2 separate regions of the Homo sapiens genome follow, and region 2 is linked to region 1. The links are contacts of gene promoters, found by promoter capture Hi-C in blood cells and fetal thymus (Javierre and others, 2016). All regions are on one chromosome and are shown on one strand. The core of a region is centred on a gene start or on the middle of the fragment in contact, and the rest is flanking DNA. Distances in the headings are between cores, read along the strand shown. Region 1 holds the start of POLR1B (RNA polymerase I subunit B). Region 2 has its middle 7.2 kb from the start of ZC3H8.

Region 1 (6,682 bases), core at 2,633-5,132:
GCCTGGGCAACATGATTAAATCTGGTCTCTATAAAAAATACAAGAATTAGCCAGGCATGGTGGTGCATGCCTGTAATCCCAGCTACTCTGATGGCTGAGGCACAAGAATCGCTTGAACCTGAGAAGAGGAGGTTGCAGTGAGCAGAGATCGCACAACTGCTCTCTGTCCTAGGTGACAGAGCAAGTCCTGTCTCAAAAAAATTAAAAAGTGGGAGCTAAACATTGGGTACACATGGACATAAAGTTGGGAAGAGGCCAGTCGCGGTGGCTCACGCCTGTCATCCCAGCACTTTGGGAGGCCAAGGCGGGCGGATCATGAGGTCCGGAGATCAAGACCATCCTGGCTAATATGGTGAAACCCCGTCTCCACTAAAAATACAAAAAATTAGCCGGGCGTGGTAGCAGGCGCCTGTAATCCCAGCTACTCAGGAGGCTGAAGCAGGGGAATCACTTGAACCTGGAAGGCGGAGGTTGCAGTGAGCCGAGATTGCGCCACTGCACTCCAGCCTGGGTGACAGAGACTCTGTCTAAAAAAAAAAAAAAAAAAAAAAAAGATGGGAACAGCAGACACTGGGGACTACTAGAGCCAGGAGAGAAGGAGGGGAGCAAAGATTGAAAACTACCTATTGGATACTGTGCTCGCTACCTGGGTGACAGGTTCAACCATACCCCAGACCTCAGCATCACCCAATATACCTTTGTAACAAATTCGCACATGTACCCCCCTGATTCTAAAATAAACGTTGAGAAGGGGAAAAGAAAGAATGCAAGGTTTTTTTAACATACAAAATTTACTTAATATAATATACCACTTTAATAGAAAAAAGAGGACAAAAAGCACATGATCATTTCAATATACACTGAAAAAGCATTTGGCAATACACAACACTCTTTCTTGGAAAAAACCTTTCAACAAACTAGAAATAAATTACTTCCTCAACATGATAAAGAGCATCTTTGGAAAAACCCACAGCCTACATCATATTAATGGTGATGTGAAAGCTCCAGTTGGGAGCTTTCTTCCCAATATCAGGCACAAAACAAGTATATTTATTCTTGTCACTTCAACATTGTATTAAATGTTCTAGACAGAGCAATTCGACAAAAGGAAGGAAAGAAGACTGCGCATTCAGATTGGAAAGGGAGAAGTATGATGATCTCTCTTTGCAGACGACAAGATACCATATAGAAAAAGTCCTAAGAAATCCACTTACGCTGTTAGAACTAATAAAGAGTTTAGCAAGATTGCCAGACACAAGATCAATATACAAAACTCAATGGTATTTCTACATATTACAAACAATTTGAAGTTAAGAAAACAATTCCATTTATATCAACACCAAAAAGAATGAAATACTTAGGAATAAATTTAACAAAAGTTCATTTCTACACCAAATACTACAAAACATCTCTGAAAGAAATTAAAGAACACCTAAATAAATGGAAAGACATCCCATGTTTATGGATTGGGAGATAATTATTGTTAGGATGAAAATAGGCCCCAAATTGATCTACCAATTGAACACAATCCTGATCAAGAATCTCAGCCTTCTTTGCAGAAATTGACAAGCTGGGCCGGGTGTGGTGGCTCACACCTGTAATCCCAGCACTTTGGGCGGCCAAGGCAGATGGATTACTTGAGGTCAGGAATTCAAGACCAGCTTGGCCAACATGGTAAAACCCTGTCTCTATTAAAAATACAAAATTAGCCAGGCATGGTGGTGCATGCCTGTAATCTCAGCTATTTGGGAGGCTGAGGCAGGAGGTAGAGGTTGCAGTGAGCCAAGATCATGCCACTGCACTCCATCCTCAGCAACAAGAGCAAAACTCTGTCTCAAAAAAACAAAAAACAAAAAAAAAAAAAAAAGAGAAAGAAATTGACAAGCTAAGCTGACGCTAAAATCCATATTGAAATACAAAGGATCAAATAAATCTGGAGAAAGAAGAACAAAGTTGGAGGATGTGCACTTCCTGATTTCAAAATTTATTACAAAGCTGTATTAATCAAATCTGTGTAGTTTGTAGACAGATATACAGATAAATGTAGATAGACATACAGATCAAGAGAATAGAACTGAGAGTCAAAAATAAACCCTTGCATCTATAGTGAACTGATTTTCGACAAGGAGGCCAAGACAATTTGATGAGGGAAAGAATAGTCTTTTTAACAAATGGTGTTAGGACAACTGGATATCCACATGCAAAGGAATAAAGTGATATGCCTTTCTCACACCATATACAAAAATTAGCTCAGAATGAGTCAAAGACTTAAATGTAAGAGTTGAAACTACAAAACTCTTAGTAGAAAATATAGGTGAAAATCCCCATGATTGAAAAATATCTAGTATTTGATAGCACAACAGGGTGACTGCAGTCAGCAATAATTTGTTGTACCTTCAAAAATAACTGAGGAAGTACAATTGGAATGTTCATGACAGAAATGATGAATGCTTGAGGTGATGGAAACCCCATCTACCCTCCTGTGATGATTACATCGTATGCCTATATGAAAACATCTCATATACCTCATAAATATGCTAATTATGTACCCATAAATTTTTTTTTAAATCCTCATGACCTTGGATTACACAATGATGTCTTAGATATGATATAAAAAGACAGGCAACAAAAGAAAAAAACTACACTTCAAAATTAAAACGTTTTGCTTCAAAGGACACCAGCAAGAAAGTAAAAACCCACAGAATGGGAGAAAAATATTTGCAAATCATGGATCTGACAAGGACTAGTATAGGCTATATAAAGAACTACAACTACTCAGTTGGCCGGGCGCGCGCGGTGGCTCATGCCTGTAATCCCAGCATTTAGGGAGGCAAGGCGAGAGGATCACTAGAGGCCGGAAGTTCAAGACCAGCCTGTGCAACAGACTCCCGGCTCGAATTTTTTATAAAAAGTGATATAGGAATGAAAAGTACCAGCTGAACTAGGAAAGGGGAAGTTGACAGTAAGGAGGGACTATCAGGGGCAGGAGGATACTGGGTAGTGGTGGTTTAATTCATTGTTTTAATTGTGGTGATGGCTGCATGGTTGTATACATAGGTCAAAACTTAACGCGTACACTTTAAATGTGTGGTTTATTGTATGCCAGTTATAACGCAATATAGCTGTTAAACACAAACACAATAAAGTTGAAAAACCAGCAGGCATTCCCTGATTAATCAGTATTCTGGGGAGGTAAGGGGCTCACAGGAACGCAAAAGAAATTCAGGCTGTAAATCCAGTTGGACGCCCCGCTGCCCCATCCCCTCCATCCGGGACCGCCCGACTCCTCTCCCACCTCCTTCCCCAGGCCTCCCCCAGGCCTCCAGTCCGGAAGATGCGACGAGGTTAGCGGGGCCCGACCACTCCTTGGCTTCCCAGGGGTGAGCCTCGCGAGTTAGGAGTTGGGTAGAGAGTCAGCCCGGGGCCCGGCATCCGCTTTTTCGTTGAAGCAACGACTTTGGCCGGATGACTCCCCAGGGTCGGCATCAGCGTGGGACTGGGAACAGGTGAAGGGAAACAGAAGAGAGCCTGAGAAGACCGCTCTCCTCCGATCCTAATTGACTGAGCCAATGAGAGCCAAAGAGGTCACATGCTCAACTGGGCGGGGAGCGGGTTTCCACCTGCGGCATCTTTCGCGAGCGGGGAGATGAGTGGGGCGGAATATGGGAGAAAGGGAGGGCCCGCCACGCTCTGGCTGGACACGGCCTTAATCGGCCCGTTCACTCGACGTTTTTGGTTCTACGTTGACCCCGAGAAACCGAAACCGCAGGGCCTAGGGCGGGTGGAACGAGAGGGAACTACATTTCCCAGCAGGCTGCGGAAACGGGACTGCGGCCACTACTTCCGGCGTGTACCGAGAGACTGGCGTCCGGCGTGTACCGAGAGACTGGCGTCCGGTGTGCAGGTGGCCACATGGATCCTGGCAGCCGGTGGCGGAACCTGCCCAGCGGGCCTAGCCTAAAGCACTTGACTGACCCCTCTTATGGAATCCCGCGGGAACAGCAAAAGGCAGCGTTGCAGGAGCTGACGCGGGCGCACGTGGAGTCCTTCAACTACGCTGTGCACGAGGGTCTCGGCCTCGCGGTGCAGGTGAGCGCGGCGTCCGCCGGCGCCCTTGCCGCGGCGAGGCCAATCCCAGGGAGGTGGCTGGGAGGTCACAGTATGACCCCAGATGCATGTGCTCCTTGATCCTGACAGGCTTGGTGGGTAAGCGGGAGAGCACAACATGTTAAACAGGACGCGGTACTGGCCTTCGTGAGACTTGGAGTCGAGGCGTCTTAAGAGATGTATTCGTGATTCTGGAGTGAAAAGTGATTGTGAACCGTAGTTTGGACAGTTTCGGGGTGCTGTGAGAGTGAGGAAGTGGCTTATCTGGGGATGTGCTTCACAATGCACACGGCTTTATATCACTTGAAGACTTACCTCTCCAAAACGTACCTCGAAAGATCCCGAACGTATTTGTAGGTACAGTGTAATGTTCAAGGTTATCCTTCAGTTTCCTTCTCTTAGAGCTTTAAAGAGAGAAACTACTCGTCATTTGTTATGAATTAAGCAGGTGCCGAGGAAGGTATAAATGAGTCATGAAAGCAAGATTGAATCGAAAAGTGTAATTGCATTATTAGCGTAGAGTAATGGTAGCAGAATTCAAGTGAGTATGGTGGGGGAAAGCTTCGTTTAGTAAGCATCCCCAGTGTCTCCAGGCACTAGGCTCAGAGGATGTGGAGGAGGCAGTCCCGTGTACGAGACAGTTCATGCATTTAAGTGCTCCCTGTCGTGTTTGGGGGTTGAAGGGGTGAAGATAATGAAAGCAGTGCATGCCAATGTTCTTGAGAACTGCTCTGCCAAGGGATTGTGTGGGCTACTGCGGGAGCCTATGGGCGGCGCAACTAATCCAGGAGTTTGAGAAAGGGCAGGATTAGATGAGTTCAAGAAGTGAGAAACGTGCATTTCGTCCAGGGGAAGAGTAGAGCAGAGTCACATGCTTCGGGGACCCTACCTGTGGTTTTGTTGGGTAAGATTTGTGTTGTGGGAGATAGGGATACAGATAATGTGGAGAGCTTTGATTGCCAGTCTGATTCTTGAACTCTATTCGGCAAATAATATGGGAGCCATTAAGATTTATTGTTTAGAAAGACTAGAGGGGTGGGGGTTATTTGTATTGTGCCTGGATTGTTACAGTATCATGTCTGTGAGAAAAAATTCCTAATTAAAAGTTAATCGGGCTGGGTGCAGTGGCTCACACCTGTAATCCAGGACTTTGGGAGGCCAAGGCAGAAGGATGACTTGAGCCCAGGATTTCAAGACCAGCTTGGATAACATAGTGAAACCCCATCTCCACAAAAATTTAAAAATTAGTGGGGCATGGTGGTGCGCACCCAAGTAGCTGGTCCCAGCTACTCGGGAGGCTGAGGTGGGAGGATAAGTTGAACCCAGGAATTTGAGGCTGCAATGAGCTATGATTGTGCCGCTGCACTCCATCCTCGGTAACAGAGTGAGACCTGTCTTTAAAAAAAAAAAATCCAATTGAGAAATTTTAGAAAAGCACTAATTTAAAAATAAGCCAGTCGGCTGGGTGTGGTGGCTCTTGACTGTAATCCCTGCACTTTGGGAGGTCAAGGCGGGTGGATCACTTGAGGTCAGGAGTTCCAGACCAGCCTGGCCAACCTGGTGAAACCCCATCTCTACTAAAAAATACAAAAATTAGCCGGGCATGGTGGCACATGTCTGTAATCCCAGCTACTCAGGAGGCTGAGGCACGAGAATCGCTTGAACCTGGGAGGCGGAGGTTGCAGTGAGCCAAGATTGCACCACTGCATTCCAGCCTGGGTGACAGAGTGAGACTCTCCCAAAAAAATAAATACATAAATAAATAAACCAATTATATGTTAACATTTTTAAGAAAAATATTTTCCAAAGCAAAAAAGAAGTTAGATGAATTGCATTATTAAAAATCTTTTTAATGTCTGGCTTAATGAAAAGACAGCTGGATTCTCATGTCTGCTTGTGCATTCAGTCCCTTGTGATAATTGTTTTGGTTGAAGTAGATGAAGAAAATTTGGCCCTGCATAGAAAATGATGCCACAACTTAGCTAGGACTATAATAATATAGTATTTGAAAAAGTTCTGTAAAACACAGTAACATAAATAACTAATACTTATAAAGCCAAGGGAAAAAATAGTTATCATATTTTTTACTTACAAAACATAATTTTGCCAAGTTTCTTTGGAGTGAATTCCTCCTTTCTGTGAGTCAGAATTTATGTGTCTGTCTTTTCAAAATACAATTGATTTTTATTACTTGGGGATTCCATATTTGCAAATTCACCTACTCACTAAAATTTACTTCTACTCCAAAAGCACCATGCCCAGAAGCAGCAAAAAAGTTGAGTTGCTCAGTGTCCATTTTCCCAGCTGAGATCTAACAAGGTGATGCTCGGCCTTCTTGTTTTAAGTTCTTAAACTATAAACAGAGGTTGTCTTCACTATCTATTTAGTGCCGTGTTTTGTGCTTTTTGTTGGTGATTTTGCTGTTTAAAATGTCCCCCAAGCAAAGTATTAAAGTATTAAAGTTCTGTATAAAGTTCCTAAGCACAAGAAGGCTGTGCTGTGCCTTTAGGGGAAAATATTAATACATGCATTTAACATAGGCTTTGTTCAGGCATGCGTTAGGGACTCAATAATA
Region 2 (6,682 bases), core at 1,888-4,387, 280 kb before region 1:
CAACAATGTGAATGTAACTAATGCCAATGAATTATATGCTTAAAAATGGCTGGTCAGACACAGTTGCTCACTCCTGTAATCCCAGCACTTTGGGAGGCCAAGGCAGGTGGATCATCTGAGGTCAGGAGTTTGAGACCAGCCTGACCAACATGGTGAAACCCCGTCTCTACTAACAATCCAAAAATTAGCCAGGCGTGGTGGCGGGCACCTGTAATCCCAGCTACTCGGGAGGCTGAGGCAGGAGAATCGCTGAAACCCGAGAGGCAGAGGTTGTAGTGAGCCGAGATGGTGCCATTGCGCTCCAGCCTGGGCAACAGAGTGAGACTCCGTCTCAAAAAAAAAAAAAAGTTGAAATGGCAAATTTTATATTTCTTTTACCAAAATAAAATAAAGCAGTTGGCATGTTAAAATGGTGAAATGGCCTGTGATAACTCAGCTCCAGTATGAGCTAGATATAATACCTTATGAGTATGTGCTATAAATCAACAATCACCAATACATGGTGCTGTTTCTCCCATAGCCAGTATACACAGGGTCTGGGAATCAAGGCTTCCAAGTGGGAGTAGGTCCTCTCTGTATTATTCCTAGTGATGCCCTAGAATAATGTTTGCTGCCTATCTCCACAACTTTGGGCTCTGCTGGTTTAGAGCAGACTTTTTCAACCGTAACATTATTGTCATTTCGGCCTGGATAATTGGGGACGGTCTTGCGCATTGTAGGAAGCTTGGCAGCATCCCTGGCCTCTGCCGCTAGGTGTCAGTAGCAGCTGTTCCCCAGTTGTGGCAACCCAAAATGTCTCCAGACATTGCCAAATGTCCTCTGCGGGGAGCAAAATCGTCCTCACTTGAGAACCACCGGTGTAGCGTTAATCCCAAAAGTAGGAATGTTTGCATCAAGGGGCGTGACAATGAGTCCATTAAACTTGAGGTTGAGACTGCCGTTTGGCCACCTTAGGATCCTCATGCCAGTGAATTAACAGGTAAAGAAGGGGCTTACTGTATTGGCAGGGGTGATTAATCCTAACTATCAAGTTATCCTGACTACATAATGATGTTAAGGAAGAGTATGTCTAGGATGCAGCTGATTTCCTGGGCGGGAGACTAAGTAATCCTATGCTCTATGATTAAAGTTAATAGAAAACACCACCACCACAGGCAGCACTGAAAGTGCCCCAAACCCTTCAGGCATGAAGGTTTGGGTTATCCACCTGTTATCAGGAGGGCACTTGAGTGTAAGTTGTGGTGGTCCTTGGTGTTTTCAACAAAGAATTAGACAAAACGCACAAAGTAACAAAGGAATGAAACACAGGGACGAAGCAGCAAAAGCAGGAATGTATTAAAGCGAGAAAGCACTCCACAGGGTGGGAATGGGCCAGAGCAAGCAGCTCAAGGGCCCAGTTGCAAAGTTTTCTGGGTTTTAAGTACTCCTTTTGAGGTGCTTATAGATGAAGGATTTGGTCTCTGGCTAATTAAAGGCTGAGGTGAATTGGTGCCCTATGTAGATGAAGCGATGGTCCCTGCCAGGCCCTCGGCCAATCCAGGGCACTTTCCTTTTCCATCTGAGATGTGGTAGATGGGGGAGAGTTGTAGGGAGAGTAGCCTTTGATCCTTTGCTACTCTGGTGTGAGGAGATGGGAAGGGGGGGTTCCTTTTGGTTCAGCTTTAGGATATTTACAGTAATTGGCCTTAGGATCCCTTCCCCCAGACCCAGGTGTTTTCCTTTTGATCCAGCTTTGGGAAGTCAGCGTGAATTGGCCTCAGATTCCCTGCCCCCAGACCTTGGTGTTTTTCCTTGATTCAGCACGAATTGGCCTTAAGTTCCCTGCTTCCAGACCCTATTCTCCTGCCTCACGCCCAGCAAGGAGTCAAGACCAGCTTGGGAGAGCAAAGAGAACACGGCAAAGAGTAGGAGCAGAAGGTAGTTGTACAAATATCAGCTGCAACTGATACAGGAGCTTAAAAGAAATTGTTTAGGCTGTTAGTGAGGGCAAGCGAGTCCTCAGTAAGGTTTCCCTTTTAATAAAAAAGCAGCTCCAAAATCATTTCTAACAAAGAGCAGCCTGAAAAATCAAGCAGCAGACGTAGAAAAGCAAGCTAGAACCTTGCAGAGGTAAATGCTGGCAGCTGTGCCAATAGAAAAGGGCTACCTAGGAGCCAGGCATATCCAACATGGAGGCTCCATCTTCCCTTTTCTTTGTCACCACATGTACAGTCAGGGAACAGGCAACATGGCACCAGCCAGGTAGCAAACCTATCTGCATAATAAAAGATTAGGGTGGGGTTGCTAGCTTCTTCAAGCACCATGTAAATGGCGCACCTGGTCCAACCAATCCTTTGCACCCTATGTAAATCAGATACCAGCTCCTCAAGCTCATCTATAAAACCACCCACATCTCTCCCTGAACCTGGAAATGTTGGGGACCCCTTCCTCTGCATGAGGCAGCTTTTCTCTTTCTTTCACCTATTAAACTTCTGCTCTTAAACTCCGTCCTTGTGTGTCCGAATCCTCGATTTCCTTGGCATGAGACAATGAACCTAAGGAATTACCCCAGACGAATGATGCTGCTTCCCAACTACATGACCAGTAGCAAAAATGATTGCAATATTTATGAATATATCATTCTTAATTTGATATAAATTTGTGGAAATATGTGTGTGGAATTACACACACATAGACACACACACACATATATTTAAAATTTTCCCTTCTACTATTCCCCTACCATCTAACACAAAATATGTTAATAGTAGTTAACTTTATATCTCTATTTAAGTTATAGGATATAAAAGGAGGCATGTGACTGAGCTAAAAAAAGAATTCAAAGAAGAATGAACATCACCCAAAAGTGAAAAAGGGACTTTTTATCCTTTCTTGGGAAAATGGGTAGCATGTTTTTGGTTGAATGGGGGATTGGTGCATCATGTTAGGCAGAGGCATGACTTTGCTATTGCTTTTATCTGAAAACTAAATATGGGTTAAAGAGATATTTATAGGTACCTAGTTAAAAAGTGTATACTTGGGCCAGGCGCAGTGGCTCATGCCTGTAATCCCAGCACTTTGGGAGGCCGAGGTGGGCGAATCACGAGGTCAGGAGATGGAGACTATCCTGGCCAACATGGTGAAACCCCATCTCTGCTGAAATACAAAAAATTAGCCAGGCGTGGTGGCAGGCTCCTGTAGTCCCAGCTACTCAAGAAGCTGAGGCAGGGGAATCGCTTAAACCCGGGAGGCAGAGGTTGCAGTGAGCCGATATCGCGCTACTGCACTCCAGCCTGGTGACAGAGCAAGACTCTGTCTCAAAAAAAAATAAGTGTATACTCGATGATTTTGTAATATGTCATCTTAGTGTATACTTGGTGATTTTGTAACATGTCATCTTAGGTAGGCTAACCCATGTTTTCCAGGATTCTTATCCTGCATATTTCTAGTTAGGGTGGACCACAAGATAGATTTTGCATAAAATTTGGGAGGTGGAGGTAAAACAGCAGCCATATTGCTTTTTACATTCAGGAGGTCAGTGAAGGGGCAGAAGATGCTATTGCAACTCATGCACATTGTTGTTTACTGGTTTACCTTGTTGATATGGGACAACAACAAGACCTGATATAACTCACCCCAGATCCTCCTTCAGATTTTCTAAATTCTGGGCCAAGCATGTCTTTAGTTCCACGATAAAGGGCTCAAGAGTCTCCTGCACAACACCTACGTCATTAAAGTAGAGCAGATTAATACAGGTTCTGGGTTTATGCTCAGGGATTCTAGATTGTCTTCATTCTCCCCCACTTTACATCCAACTTCCCTTCCTGAATATGTGCCTTGCAGGTCTTAAAAGTTTTTTAGACAAAGTCTTGCTTCATCAGTGGCACAATTATAGCTCACTGCACTCCCATGGGGTCTCACTGTGTTGCCCAGACTGGTTTCAAACTCCTGGCCTCAGCAATCCTCCTACTTCACCCTCCCAAAGTACTGGGATTATAGGCATAAGCCGCTGTGCCTGGCCCCACCTTGCAGCTCTGAAGCTCCAATATCAGACAAGAGCTTTACAGACTGTTTTAAACAGCTCCCACAATTGCATAAGGTCAAATCCCTGTAAATCTAGCTAGCTATCATCTGTCATCTATCTATTTATTTATCTTCTAGTGATTCTGATTATCCAATTAGACTTTGAGTAATAAGATGGCTTTAATAGAGTAGACAGGGTTTAAAAGAAAATTAGTGAACTGGAAGATAAGTCAGAAGAAATTATCCAGAGTACATCATAGAGAGACTGCCACCCAAAAAAGGGAAGTTACAAAAGAGATTATTATAAAAACATAAATAATAGATTTAAATGTCTAACATATAACTAATAATAAGAAGAGAAGAAAAAAAGAAAGAGGAGGAGGACATATTTGAAAAGAAAAGGCTGGCCAGGTGTGGTGGTTCATGTCTATATTCCCAGCACTTTGGGAGGCCAAGGCAGGTGGATCTCTTGAGGTCAGGAGTTCAAGACCAGCCTGGCCAACATGGTGAAACCCTGTCTCTGCTAAAAATACGCAATAGCCAGGCATGGTGGCCCACACCTGTAATCCCAGCTACTCGGGAGGCTGAGGCAGGAGAATCACTTGAACCCAGGAGGCGGAGGTTGCAGTAAGCCAAGATTGTGCCACTGCACTCCAGCCTGGGTGACAGAGTGAGACTCTGTCTCAAAAAAAATAGAAAAGAAAAGAGAAAAAGAAAAAGAAAGAAAAGAAAAGACAGACTTTTCCAGATTGTTGAAACTCAGCAATTTACAGATCAAGCATTAAACAAATACTAGGCAGGATAACTAAAAGAAATCCATACTAAGACACACCATACTGAAACTACAGAAAAGCAGAGAAAATATGTAAAATAGCCACAGAAAAGTTTTAAAAGTTTACCTTCAGAATAATGACAATTAGACTGCCAGCTGTCTTCACAGCTGCAACAAGGGAATCCAGAAGACAATAAAATTATATCTTCAATAAATTGAAAGAAAATAAAACTTCTGAACTAGGATTCTATACCTTGAAACAATATTATTCAAAAATGGAGGTGAGCTATAAGATGTATTTAGGAAAACAAAAACAGAGAGGTCACTATGAGCAAATTATTTAGGAGATTCTGAATAAATTTAGAAATTAGAAAGAATGAATTTGATAGCAGCAAATCTCAGGTGCAGGTTTGAGTTATAAGAAAAAAATGGACAATGAAGAAACTGATCATTCTAAGTAAATATTTAGTGAATAGAACAATATTACTAAGGTATTTGGTAGTTAAAGTTTATATATGATGGGATTTCTGGTTCTAGGTAACATAGTAAAAGCACATTATAGTCCCTGAATATAGGTTTACCTAGATAGGATGCACGGAATTGCTTGAAGACTCTAGAAAGTAATTAACGCAGGCAGATTGGTGAAGAAGATGACAATTCAAAGTACCACTGAAATAGCGTTAAGTTTTTAATTTTCTTTTTTCTGTGGTCCTCCTGCCACTAAGCCCAGACATAGGTACAATTGCAAATGTATGCAGAAGTGGGGGTAACTGAAGCTCAAGCTTTCTGGTTGGACAACCAAAAAATAAAGCTCCAGGGACCTGAAAAATTTTCTAGGAGACCATAATGAAGAAGGGGCCTAGAAAAATGACATCATAAATTTCTGAACCCCCGGGCTTACCATATAGTTGCCCATGCATGGATCTGATCCTAATTGGCATGCCAAAGACTTTTGAGAGTTGAATAGACATAATTCATCCATGTCCTGACTGGTCCCTGGTAGTACAGATCTAAGATTCAAATAACATTGCAAAGGCATCCAGTTGAACAGGCACTGGAATCGCAGTGGGTTAGAAATCGAGGCCTGAACCTAACCGGGTCTATTACCAATAAAAACAAAAATATAAACATTCTGCATAAGATTTAACTAAGATCCAGAGGTTTTATAGCATATTATTATTCAGAATCTCCAGGATACAATTCAAACTTATTTGGCATACAAAGAACCAGGAAAATCTCAAATTGCCTGGGAAAAGACAATCAACAAATGCCAAAGCTGTGATGACTTATATATTGGAATTATCTGACAGACTTTGAAACAGCTTTTTATAAAAACGCTACACTAAATGCCCTTGAAACAAATGGAAAAAGTAGAGCATCTCAGTAAAAAAAGAGAAGACATAAAGAAGAACCAAATGGAATTTTGAGAACTGAAAAATATAAAAACTAAAATTAAAAACTCAATGAATATTCAAAGACACAATAAGTAAATCAAATATGGAATATCCCAAAATGTTAAAGCAGAAAAGAAAAAAATGGAAGAGCAACAAGAGAATGAATAAAAAAAATGTTAAAGATAGACTTAAAATCAAACATATTAATAGGTACATTGGATGCAAGTGGGATAAATTTACCAAATAAAACAAAGAGATTGTCAGAATGGATAAATATGATCCAGCTGTGTATTCTCCACAAGAAACTCATTTTATTTTATTTTATTTTATTTATTTTTTTGAGATGGAGTTTCGCTCCTGTCACCCAGGCTGGAGTGCAGTGGCACAATTGCAGCTCACTGCAACCTCCACCTCTCAACTTCAAGGGATTCTCCTGCTTCAGCCTCCTGAGTAGCTGGGATTACAGGCGCACTCCGCCATGCCTGGCTAATTTTGGTATTTTTAGTAGAGATGA

The links. The method cuts DNA at HindIII sites, captures the fragments that hold promoters and counts their contacts. A CHiCAGO score of 5 or more calls a contact.
Region 2: a fragment that was not itself captured here is called in contact with the fragment with the promoter of POLR1B in region 1 in 6 of 17 cell types (fetal thymus, total B cells, naive B cells and 3 more); the score reaches 9.0 in fetal thymus.

What each region holds. Positions count from the first base shown.
Region 1 is chr2:112,538,583-112,545,264 of GRCh38, forward strand. It overlaps POLR1B (RNA polymerase I subunit B), which reads left to right and starts at 3,883. Exons shown (of 15, transcript NM_019014.6): 1 at 3,883-4,089. The coding sequence starts at 3,913. It overlaps TTL (tubulin tyrosine ligase), which reads left to right. Exons shown (of 7, transcript NM_153712.5): 7 at 1-3,157. It overlaps LOC105373562 (a long non-coding RNA gene), which reads right to left and starts at 3,630. Exons shown (of 2, transcript NR_136321.1): 1 at 3,621-3,630; 2 at 3,074-3,496. RefSeq lists an enhancer at 3,766-3,915. The HindIII fragment of the contact is 8,470 bases long and covers 1-4,666 here.
Region 2 is chr2:112,258,865-112,265,546 of GRCh38, forward strand. No RefSeq gene overlaps it. Among named protein-coding and RNA genes, the nearest start is that of ZC3H8, 7.2 kb to the left of the region's middle. The HindIII fragment of the contact is 4,833 bases long and covers 722-5,554 here.